Linked DNA regions of Homo sapiens: all the other regions are linked to region 2. Evidence: promoter capture Hi-C in 16 types of primary human blood cells and fetal thymus (Javierre and others, 2016). All regions are on one chromosome and are shown on one strand. Each heading gives the region's core, a stretch centred on a gene start or on the middle of the fragment in contact. The rest is flanking DNA. Distances are from core to core; before and after follow the strand shown. Region 1 overlaps LINC02572 (long intergenic non-protein coding RNA 2572). Region 2 holds the start of IMP4 (IMP U3 small nucleolar ribonucleoprotein 4). Region 3 has its middle 36 kb from the start of ARHGEF4.

What was found. Contacts are between HindIII fragments. The CHiCAGO score rates a contact against its expected background, and 5 or more counts as called.
Region 1: a contact is called between a fragment that was not itself captured here and the fragment with the promoter of IMP4 in region 2, in 1 of 17 cell types (total B cells). The highest score is 6.5, in total B cells.
Region 3: a fragment that was not itself captured here is called in contact with the fragment with the promoter of IMP4 in region 2 in 3 of 17 cell types (non-activated CD4 T cells, naive B cells and total CD8 T cells); the score reaches 8.1 in non-activated CD4 T cells.

The regions. Positions count from the first base shown.
Region 1 is chr2:129,865,981-129,869,915 of GRCh38, forward strand. It overlaps LINC02572 (long intergenic non-protein coding RNA 2572), which reads right to left. Exons shown (of 6, transcript NR_149127.1): 3 at 3,447-3,555; 4 at 182-274. Among named protein-coding and RNA genes, the nearest start is that of LINC02572, 9.5 kb to the right of the region's middle. The HindIII fragment of the contact is 995 bases long and covers 2,152-3,146 here.
Region 2 is chr2:130,341,262-130,345,146 of GRCh38, forward strand. It overlaps IMP4 (IMP U3 small nucleolar ribonucleoprotein 4), which reads left to right and starts at 1,636. Exons shown (of 9, transcript NM_033416.3): 1 at 1,636-1,674; 2 at 1,825-1,933; 3 at 3,368-3,451. The coding sequence starts at 1,672. It overlaps VMA22 (vacuolar ATPase assembly factor VMA22), which reads right to left and starts at 903. Exons shown (of 5, transcript NM_032357.4): 1 at 754-903; 2 at 580-683; 3 at 406-488. The coding sequence starts at 864. RefSeq lists enhancers at 819-1,368, 1,499-1,668. The HindIII fragment of the contact is 8,635 bases long and covers 569-3,885 here.
Region 3 is chr2:130,799,249-130,803,259 of GRCh38, forward strand. No RefSeq gene overlaps it. Among named protein-coding and RNA genes, the nearest start is that of ARHGEF4, 36 kb to the right of the region's middle. The HindIII fragment of the contact is 204 bases long and covers 1,436-1,639 here.

The DNA.
Region 1 (3,935 bases), core at 1,399-3,898, 470 kb before region 2:
GCCTCAGAACCACGCCATGCACCCAGTCACCCATCTGTTCAAAGTGAAGTGCAAGAGTCCTGAGCACGGCGTCAATGCTCCGCACCTCGAAGCGTCATTCCTAACCCACACAGCCAGGAAAATGAAAATGAGGCTTCTTTCCCCATTGTACCATGAGACGGCTGAAGCTAAGGTCGGTTACCTCATCCAAGGTCATCCAGACAAGCGAAGGGAGGCAACGGTCCACATTCCTTCCACTGCCCCACACACTTCCCTACACATCACGTATGATTTCCTGGGGGGAAACAAAGAAAAATAAAAGAAAATATTGCATCTATCTTATGCTAATAAATGCCCAGTATACCACTGCATCTCCTCCTCTTCATGAATACCCAGTTCCCAATAGTAGCCCCTATTACAGCAGCTCCTAGGTTCTTGTGTCTGGTGAAGCTAGCAAAAATCTTACACACTTAAAAGATGCAGAAGCACAATCCCAAAATTTTCACTGAGAGAAAAATTGAATTTTTAGAGCCAGGTTAGTTTTTTGTTCATTTGCGTTTTGAGACATAGTCTCTACTCCACCCAGGCTAGAGTATGGTGACACAATCTCAGCTAACTGCAACCTCCGCCTCCTGGGCTCAAGCGATCCTCCCACCTAAGCCTTCCAAGCTATCCTCCCACCTAAGCCTTCCAAGCAACTACAGCTATGCACTATCACACCTGGCTAATTTTTTCTTTCTTCTTTTTTGTTTTTTTGTTTTTTTGTAGAGATGGGGCCTACAGGTCATAGGTAGATTAAAAGATTTTCTGATTTGCAATTAGTTAATGAAAAGAAGCTTTGTTTATAAATTTAGGGTCCATCAGGAAAGAATGTTAGCTCTGGCTCACATGTGTGACTCCCTCCAGGCCCTTCAAGAAGAAATTTAGAACAAAGGATGGTAGTCCAGAATTCAGTCTTCAGTTCCCCCTTATCAGAGGTCTATGTGCCACAGATCAGTTCGGTGGGGGTCTGGGTTTCTGAAAAACAACTCAGGAACGTATGTCAAGATGTTAAGTTCAGTTTCTATAGGGGAACCAAGTATCTGACTCTAACTTCCACTTCCTTGGCCTGTTGTTTTAGACTACTATTACCTTCTTGCTTATCAAGCTGCTCATTTACTTCTCAGGGCTAGCTGGGTGCTAGCTTAGGCTAGTCTTGAACTCCTGAGCTCAGGTGATCCACCTGCCTCAGCTTCCCGAAGTGCTGGGATTCCAGGTGTGAGCCACTGCACCCGGCCTAGCCAGGTTTTTTGTTTTTGGGTTTTTGTTTTTGTTTTTTTTTTTTGAGATGGAGTCTCACTCTGTTGCCCAGGCTAGAGTGCAGTGGCATGATCTCTGCTCACTGCAACCTCCACCTCCCGGGTTCAAGCAATTCTCCTGCCTTAGCCTCCCAAGTAGCTGGGACTACAGGCACCCACCACAACGCCCGGCTAATTTTTGTATTTTTAGTAGAGACAGGGCTTTACCATGTTGGCCAGGCTGGTCTTGAACCCCTGACCTCAGGGGATCTGCTCACCTTGGCCTCCCAAAGTGCTGGGATTACAGGCGTGAGCCACCACACCTGCCCACCAGGTTAGTTTTTAATTAATCAGCCCATAATAGAAGAAGGAAAGAACATACCTAAGACAGATTGGCATATTAGTCATTCAGTTCCAATGCTGATACACACATGGCTACACAACCATACACATACATGTGCACACACATCTGACACACACTCACCTACAAACACACACACACATACACATGAGCACATATCTCTAAGGCAATTCATATATTCTAAAATACTCAGAGTAATTGATCATAAAGTGCTATCTATTTATCCATCAACTGTAATCACCATTGTCGTGTCTAAAACCCCCACTGTTTCACCTAAAATGTTAAATACTGCCTTTTGTTTTCTTGCTGTCTCTTTCACCAAGTAAGTTTAATTCCCGCTGGCAAAGGAAAAAGTTACACACACATGCATGCACGCACACACACACACATACACATAGAATTTCTCCAAGAATATTGTTAGGATTATCTCACCTGAGAAGGGAGAGTGAGAATCATGAGAAAGCTGAAAATGTTAAGATTGGATTTATTGTTTTGCGGAAAGGGAGTAGCTGAAACTCCCTAGTAATGAGCAGAAGCTTTGTTTTCGGTTCTGTGATATTAACCTTTATTTCACTAAGATAAAGCTGACAAAATTAGAACCCCTCACTTGCATTACAACTACACGGGGGTGGTGGGTCCATGAGGAGCAGACCCCCTACGTGACCACAGGAGCAGCAGCAGGACAGAGGACCCTCCAGGGTCGCCAACAGGGACATCTTGGCCCAGACATCATGGACAGGGTCCCCCTTGGCTCACCCGACCAGGCAGGTAAGACTGTGGGGCCAGCAAAGCTCGTCACCTCACTCAGGGACAAAGACATCCTGCCCAAGCATGGGAGTTGGAGGTGAGGATGAGTGCCAGGTGCCTTCTTTGCCCCCTGTACCCCTAACAAATAACTTTCTAATGCAAAGACCCAGCCTTAGAGGTGCTCGTCGTGATCAGCACGTGGGGGAGTGTGGGAAGGACTGGGTTAGGACACACACAGACACACACCTAAGGCAACACTGAAAGAGCTCTCCTCCCCACCCCTGAGGCCACAACTGGGGTTCTTGCTGACAGGGGCACCCACAGCATCTAAAAGGAAACCATCGCTGCCTTCTGCTCAGCAAAGATGACCCCATCCTCCCTCCAGAAGGAGAGCGGTTTCTGGAGAGGCCCTCCCAGGACCCTGCCCTTGCTGCACTCAGGTCCCTGGTGTTTGGATTTCTGCTTCCAAATTGTTTAAGCACAGGGCCTCTCATCTTTTCCCCCAAAGTGAAAGAAACCTCAGTGGATGCTTGGAAACCACATCAGGAGGCACAGGCGATTACATGTCCCAGAGCCAACACTTGTACATTCCCAAGCAGAGACCAGCTGCTAGAATGGCTTCTAAAGAGCCTGGTATCCCTGGAGCAACAGAATCCAGTGGCACATAAAAGTAAACCAAAGGCTAGTGTTGGAGGAAGCACACCCACCACTAACAAAGGATGCACAGTGGATCCTTTAAGACGCTTAAAGGACTCTTGGCCTCCAAACCTCACTTCCACAAAAGCTTATTTTTCTTCTCACAAGGTTTGTGTGTCCCTCCCCCAGCGTTTCTAAGACCTGGCTGATGTTTACAGTTCACTGTCATGTGTCTCTCACTTTCATCTGTATGAATTTCCCCAGTGTTAAAGAATCCATTGCGCCCCCCAACCAACTCAAGCACAGAGGTCGTTCCTTCTGGAAAGAGTCCCAATCCCAGCCTTGAGGATGAGGCTGGCATCCTCCCGCTGGCCGGGTCTTCTCCGCGAATTGGGATCTGCCTCCTGGGAGGATGATACCCGTGGCTGCTGCTCTGCGTGGCTCACCTTGGCCAGGAGCTAGATTCCTGCTGGTGGGAAATGCATAGCCTACTTGCTGCACCCAAGCGCCTGGAGCTTTCATTCTGCAGCAGTTTCTTCAGGAAAAAGGTCATCCCTAAAGGTCAAAGGATACCAAGTTTATAACTTGAGTTTATAATGTATTCAAATTTTTTTTTTTTTTTTTTTGAGATGGAGTCTCACTCTGTCACACAGGCTGGAGTGCAGTGGCGCAATCTCCGGTCACTGCAAGCTCTGCTTCCCACGTTCCTGCCATTCTCCTGCCTCAGCCTCCCGAGTAGCTGGGATTACAGGCACCCGTCACCATGCCCGCCTAATTTTTGTATTTTTAGTAAAGACAGGGTTTCACCTTGTTGGCCAGGCTAGTCTCAAACTCCTGACCTCAAGTGATCCCCCAACCTCAGACTCCCAAAGTGCTGGGATTACAGGCGTGAGCCACCATGCCTGGCCTTAAACTTTTTAATTATGAAAATGACA
Region 2 (3,885 bases), core at 386-2,885:
CCCACTGATGACCCTGTTTGCCTGTGACACTGATCTTACCCATTGTACCTGAACATGCCAACAGACCAGACATAGACGTTCCAACTCCCCATTCTTTGTCTCAGGATGATTAACTGGGATTAGAAGTTTGTCCCTCTGAAACTAGCTAGACACACAGATAAATATTTTCTGTTCAGCTGACTGAAATGTATGTGATTGTAAATCTATTCCCAGTGTAAAGCAACTCACCAACAATTTCTCTACTTCCTATAAAAGTCTAAGGCAAAACCACCCTACAAAAACATTCTGTTCTTCTGCTCTGGGATGCTCTCTCTTATCGCAAAAACCTAATTTAAATCATCTCCATAATTTGCATTTTGTCTTTGACACTGGGAAGGGGTTCTGCAGAAGGAAGAGGGGGCTCACCTGCTTCGCGAGGCCCCACCTCCTCTGGGGCGTGGACACCAGCTCTCACCACCTTGAACTTCTGGAGTCCCTCCTGGGCCTCGCTGAAGGACGAGAAGGGAGGATGGAGCTTTGGCAGCCCGGGCCTAGAACGCGCCCGCCCGCCCACCCAGCCCAGCATGGAAGCTTCCTCACCTGGCGTGGAGGCAGACCTGGGGCTCCATGTGGGAAGCATACTGCAGGGGCCCTACCGACTTGGCGCCCATCGCGTAGCGAGCCTTGGCGAGCGAGAGCCAGCCCTGCAGGGAGAGGAAAGCGGTGAGACTCAGTTTACGCCCGTGTACCCTCCTGCCCGCCCCAGGCGCCTACCTCCTCCACCCGGGCGTTCAACACCGTTCGTTTCCCCTCCAGCTCCTCCAGGTCCCCAAGCAGCTGCAGGACCAGCGAATCCAGCTCCGCTCGCAGGTCAAGCGCCGCCATGGACACACCTCCAGATCTGGAGCCACCTTCTTCCTTGTCACCCTCCGCAGTTTGGCAGGACAGCCAATAGGCACACGAGATCCTCCATCAAGGGGCGTTCCCATCTGGGGATCCCCACGCCGGCAGCACCAAGGCCTCTGGGTCAGCTTCTTTAAGGGCAAGCGCCCTTAGAGAAGCAGCACGGAAGCAACCAATCAACTGGTTTCTCCAATTAGCCCCCAAGTGGATCAGCCTGCTGAACTGTCGGCTAGGGTTATAGGTGGTTCTGAGTCCTTCCGGAAGCTGCCGAATCTTAGAAGTCGCGCCACTGTTGTGGCGATGGAAGAAGGCGAAGCTCTACAGAAACCATTTTGGTTGAGGGAAGAGTGGTTTTAAAGTTAATTTGGAAAGGAGCCGGCAAGCAACCTTCAGTCGGTGTGCGGTTTTTACAGTTGAACTGTTTCCAGCCGCTAATTATGATTGTTTTAGCGGTTCGTCATCTGAAAACTGCATTCTGCACGGCGGTGGTGGGGGGAGGACGAGGATGGAGAAGCCTGGGCGGACATATTTATTAGCTGCGGTCCTAAGTCACGTGTGACATTCTGTATCCAGTCTATCGGTTATCCCAAGGAGAACGCCCTGCCGGAATGGCCAATCGCCTTGAGATGTCCCCGCCCTATTCGCCATCTTAACATAGGGCATTCCCCACAGCTGCAGGCACCAGTGAAGCGTCTAAGGGACCATCTTGGTTGAGGGCGGAAGTGAGGACTGTGTCGCGCTGGAGGAGCCCACAGATTCTCCCGGACCCACGTGGAAGCGGCACTCAAGATGGTAGGAGAATGAGCTCCTGTTTCGGAGGTCCGGGGCGCGTGAAGTGCTGGGGATGTGGCTCTGGGGACTTGGAGGCTCAGCGGCTCCGGGGCTCCGGGGTTCCGGGGCTCGGGAGCGAGTAGTGAGTGACTGGGCCTGCTGTTCCCACAGCTGCGCCGCGAGGCCCGCCTGCGCCGCGAGTACCTGTACCGCAAGGCCCGGGAGGAGGCGCAGCGCTCAGCCCAGGAGAGGAAGGAGCGGCTGCGGCGCGCGCTGGAAGGTAAGGCATCGGCCCCGCGGGCGTCTGCGTGGTAAACCACCCCGGCACGCATTTGTGTTCGAATATCCGAGCGTCTTTCCAAATGCTTGCCGGCCGTTTTCCTTGCCCATTGGGTTCTCCTGTTGGTTTTGAGAGTGTTTCTTCCGTGTGATGGTATTAATTACTTGTCACTGACGTTGCAGTACCCGGGTTTTGCAGCTTGCCCGCTGTGTGCAGTGTGTCAAGTTCGTCCCAAGTTTTAAAGACTTTATCTTGTCCTGTAGAAATTCTCTTTAGAGCGGTGGCTCACTGCTGTAATCCCAGCACTTTGGGAGGCCGAGGCGGGCGGATCATGAGGTCAGGAGTTCGAGCCTGACCAACATGGTGAAATCTCGTCTCTACTAAACATACAAAAATTAGCCGGCCGTGGTGGCACGCGCCTGTAATCCCAGCTACTCAGGAGGCTGAGGCAGGAGAATCGCTTGAACCCGGGAGGCGGAGGTTGCAGTGAGCCGAGATCCTGCCACTGCACTCCAGCCTGGGCAAAAAAGCAAGACTCCGTCTCAAAAAAAAAAAAAAAAAGAAATTCTCTCTAAAGACTATCTGGATAGCGCTGGTGCTGCAGACTGCGCTGCCCATCCTCCCTGCAGGAGTTCCTCTGAGCTCCGTGGGGAACAGTGCTGGCCCCGAGTGCGCACCTGGAGCGCTGTGCTCTGCGGTAGGCAGCCTGTGGTCCAGGGCCCGCTGAAGCCATGCCTTCGAAGCGCTGTGGGCATCGTGACCAACGGTTTTGCTGTCTGAGAGCTTAAAGGTCTCTGGTCCACCATCATACGTACAGAACAGTCTATATTTCTTTTCAAAAGTAATTTTTAAGGCCGAGCGCTGTGGCTCACGCCTGTAATCCCAGCACTTTGGGAGGCCGAAGCGGGTGGATCACGAGGTCAGGAGATCGAGACCATCCTGGCTAACACGGTGAAACCCCGTCTCTACTAAAAATATAAAAAATTAGCCGGGCGCCGTGGCGGGCTCCTGTAGTCCCAGCTACTCGCCAGCCTGAGGCAGGAGAATGGCGTGAACCCAGGAAGCGGAGCTTGCAGTGAGCCGAGATGGCACCACTGCACTGCTCTGCCTGGGTGACAGAGCGAGACTCCGTCTCAAAAAAAAAAAAAATCGATGTTTAGATTTCTACCTGATTATAAAAGCAATACAGTACATTAAGATATTTTAGAAAGTCCTCAAGTCATGAGACTAAAGAAAATGAAGTCCTAGTAACCACTGTTTATGGGGGTTGGCCTGTAGAAAGTTTTGTCACCTCTATCCATGCTTTATCCAAGCTCAGAAAGGGCTGAGGTATTTTTATTTCAAGCATGTGCAGGCTAATAAGCTGTGGTGTATTGGATGAGCTGAGGTCTCCATGCTTGTGACTCACTCAGCCCCTCTCTCTTCCCTCTGCAGAAAACCGCCTGATTCCCACTGAGTTACGCCGAGAGGCTCTGGCCTTACAGGGGTCCCTGGAGTTTGATGATGCTGGAGGTGAAGGTAACTATACAAGGTAGCCCTCCCCAACACTGAGCTGGCAGGTCTCCAGTCCTTCCTCAGACACACCGGGCACCATCCCATCAGAGGAAACTGCTCCTGGAACTGTCCCCCATGCCCTTGTCACTGCACAGATGGCATTGCAGGGCTCTCCCTGAGTGTGCCCTGTCCCACTTACATGGCACACATGGGAGTGCCTCACTGACTCTGCACCTGGCTTGTTAATTACCTCCCCCACTGGAGTGCCTGCTGGGGAAAGACAGTGTCCCTCACACATTATTGGTGCCCATACGTTTATTCACTGCATTATTCAAGAAACAAGAAAGGAATCCCAAACATTATAGATATTTGTTACGAGGGAAAAGAGTTTGTCACCGTTGGCCTTAGCAGAGTGTGGATTTCGTTGTGTAATGGAGTAGCTGCTTAGCCCCATGTGA
Region 3 (4,011 bases), core at 288-2,787, 460 kb after region 2:
TGCTGGTCCTCAAGGTATCAGGTGTGAGTCATCCCAAAAGGACCCTGCCTAAGAGGGTGGCCTGTCAAGAGGAGCCTTCTGGGGGCACAGCAGGGCCAGGAGTTGAGACATAGGAGGTTGCCCAGAAAGTGTGGGATGCAGCTTAGGCAAAGTGCAGAGGGTGAGCCCCATATCTCCCAAAAGAAGACCACAGATGCCCTAGCCTCTCTCCCCCACGCCCTGTCAGGGCCACCATGAGGGATGACCCTCTGTAGCCACAGGGTTGAAACTGCTGAAAATCAAACACAAGTCCTCACCATGTGACTGGCTGAATTACAGCAAAAGCTGAACTCCCAGCCTCCCAGGATGTCTACTATTAAAGTGAGGGTATTGATTGGGAGAGGATGACAACCTGTAAATTGGGATGGGGGTGTATGGGAATATCCTGATGAAACTGGGAGACATTGAGCTCCTAAATTCTGATGAATTCTCTTTGCCCACGGGAGTTGTCTTCCCATCCACAGCAAAACTAGCCTCCCCATCCCCAGGGGAAGCAGCCTTCACACCCTTCGTGGTGTTGGCCTTGGCCTGAGGAGATTAACCCTGCATTGCTGGAGGAAATGATAAAGACCTCCCCTGAGGCAGTTGTCATGCAAGACAATGCTGAGTTTCCTTAGGACCCACCTGTCTTTACTAGACCTATAACTAGACTCAAGGCCCAGCAGGCCCCCAAAGGTGAGGACATAGCAGGACCCAGGAGGAGGTGTGCCACAATCCAAAAGAACTACTTGAGTTTTCTAATTCATACAGGCAGAAATCCAGTAAATGTGTGGAAATGGATCTTAAGGATCCATTAAACATGCAGGATAATGGTGGAAAGACCATAAAGTCGGATCAGGCCAAATGTATTGATGTGGGCCCACTAAGCAGAGATTCTGCACTGAATGCTGCAGCCCTGGGCGTGTAAAAAAGACCTAATAGTTTAGTTGGTTAGGGGAAACAGATTAAAAGGCGGCCTACAATGAGCAAGTTGGAGGTGCCAGATATCCCTTGTTTTAATGTAGAGGAAGGGAATTGAAGAGATTGGAATTAGAGTAGATTTGCCATTTTAGACATACTTACCCACACTAGTCCAGACACACCTTTCACCAATATTGTAAGAAATGGGTTTGTGAGGGGAGCCCCAGCATCCTTCAAGAGCTGTTTCATTGCTTTTCTCTCTGGGCAGACCTTACAGTGGGAACCACAGTCACTCAATTGGAAAATTAAATGCAATGACAGCAACTGATCTCAGGGTGGGAGGAGCCAAGAGGGGAACTCAACCACCTAAGACAAGGTGGGTGTGACTACCATAATGGACAGAAGAGACAAAGTAACAATCAGAATAGTCTGACTTGTGTGAATATGTGATGTTGGATAGTTGATTATGGCGTTCCTAGAAGTGAAATAGATAGGAAGCTTGTACTGAAGTCAACATTAAAAGGTAGAGACAAATCTCTAAATATAACATTTTATTTGGGATATAAGAATTGCAATTTGGGTCATACACACAGACCAGGTGTTTTTCAGTATGTCCAAAGAACAAAGAGCAGGTTGGGGATTTTATAGAATAGAGGAATGTTGCTCGTGGTCTTGAGAGAAAGTTTATTTGTATTAGTAAAGCTTTGGGACTAGCAAGCTGATTGGTGAACGATAGCAGTGGACACAATGAGCCCTACATTGGCGGCAAGATATTCCACAAGCTATAGACAAAACTGGTCTCAGGTTACAATAGACAGTTTTGGCTGCTGGACTTGCAGAAAATTGCATTTCTGAAGCGATGTTATAAATCCTGAGTGTTTTTCCCTCCTTGGCCCTCAACTCAGATTTAATTGGGTGTGACAAGAATCACACATTTATGATCAACTTTCATACCTATTAAATTCTTAATCTGTATAAGCAGAAAACTTCCAGGTCGAGTTAACAAAAATCTTACTTGAATCATGAAAATAGAACATCATGGTCCATGCAGGGGAAGCACAGTCCCCTCCAGAAAGGATCCTGTATGCTATCAAAAACCTCTACTGTTAATCTTTCTCTCAGCCTTCCCTAGAGAGACCTTTGACCTTTTACCAGGGTCATTGTGTACTAGGAAAAAGAAAATAATCAGACCTCTCAGGCACTCTGGGACACTGGCTCTGAACTGACATTCATTCCAGAAGACCAGAAGCATCCCTGTGGCCCTCCAGGGGCTTACGGAGGTCAGGTGGTCAAGGGAGTTTTAGCTCAGGTCCATCTCACAGTGGGCCCATTGGGTCCCCAGGCTCAGTCTATGCGGTTATTTCCTAAGTTCCAGAATGCATAATTGGAACATACTGTCATGTGTCACTCACCGAACGGTGGGGATACAGTCTGAGAAGTGCATCATTAGGTAATTTAGTCTTTGTACAAGCATCATAGAGCATACTTACACAAATCTAGATGGTATAGCCTCCTCCATACTAGGCTATATAGGATAGCCTATTGCTCCTAGGCTATAAACCTATATAGCAGGTTACTGTACTAAATACTGTAGGCAACTGTAGCACAATGGTATTTGTGTATCTAAACATAGAAAAGGTACAGCAGGCCGGGCGCGGTGGCTCGTGCCTGTAATCCCAGCACTTTGAGAGGCCGAGGCAGGTGGATCACCTGAGATCAGGAGTTCGAGACCAGTCTGGCCAATATGGTGAAATCCTATCTCTACTAAAAATACAAAAATTATCTGGGCGTGGTGGGTGGTGGGTGCCCGTAGTCCCAGCTACTCAGAAGACTGAAGCAGGGGAATCACTTGAACCCAGGAGGTAGAGTTTGCAGTGAGCCAAGATTGCGCCACTGCACTCCAGCCTGGGCGACAGAGTGAGACCCCATCTCAAAAAAAAAGGAAAGAAAAAAGAAAAGGTAGAGCAAAAGTATGGTATTATAATCTTATGGGACCACCATCATATATGCTATCCACCATTGAGCGAAATGTTATGTGATACGTGGCTGTACTTAGTAGCTAGCAGAGTACCATGTTGGTTCCCTGAGGACTCTTCTGATAGGCAAATCCAAATGAAAGCCACTGAAGCTGCCTTTGCCTAAGAAAACCAAAAGCATTGCTGCATTCTAGAGAGACTGCAGAGATTCGGAGATTAGCACCAGCATCAAGGACTTAAAAGATACAGGAGTGGTGATTCCCACCACATCCCCATTCAACCCTCCTATCTGGCCTGTGCTAAAGAGAGATAGATCTCAGACAATGACAGTGGCTTCTTGTAAGCTTAACCAAGTGGTGACTCCTATTGCAATTGTTGTACCAGCTGTGGTTTCACTGCTTCAGCAAATTAACACAGTAAGCAGCTATTGATCTGACAAATGCCTTTTTCTCCATGTCTTTCTGTAAGGTTCACCAGAAGCAGTTTGCTTTCAGCTGGCAAGGCCAGCACTACCCCTCCACTGTCCTACCTCAGAAGTATGTCAACTCTACAACCCTATGTTATAAATTAGATTGCAGGGATCTCAATTTCTTTTCCCTCCTGCAAGATAGCACACTGGTCTATCATGACACTGATGACCTAGTGCTGACTGGACCATAAGTGAGAAATAGCAACTACTCTTAACTTACTGGTGAGATATTTGTGTGTCAGAGGCTGAGAGAGAACTCTAACTGAAATTCAGGGATCTTCTACCTCAGTGAAATTTCTGGGGGTCCAGAAAATGTTGAAAATATCCTTTTTCTCTTTTTTAAAACTATCTGGAGATATGAAATATCCTTTCTAAGGTGAAGAAAGAATACATGATTGCATGTGGCCCCTCTTACAAACTAGAAAAAGACACAATTACTAGCGGGCCTACTTGGATTTTGGAGGCAACATATTCCTCATTTGGGTGTGTTACTACAGCCCATTTATTGAGTGACCTGAAAAGCGGCTAGTTCTGAGTGGGGCCCAGAACAGGAGAAGGCGCTGCAACAGGTCCAAGCTGCTGTGCAGGCTGCTTTGCCACTTGAGCCATGTGACCCAGCAGATCTAG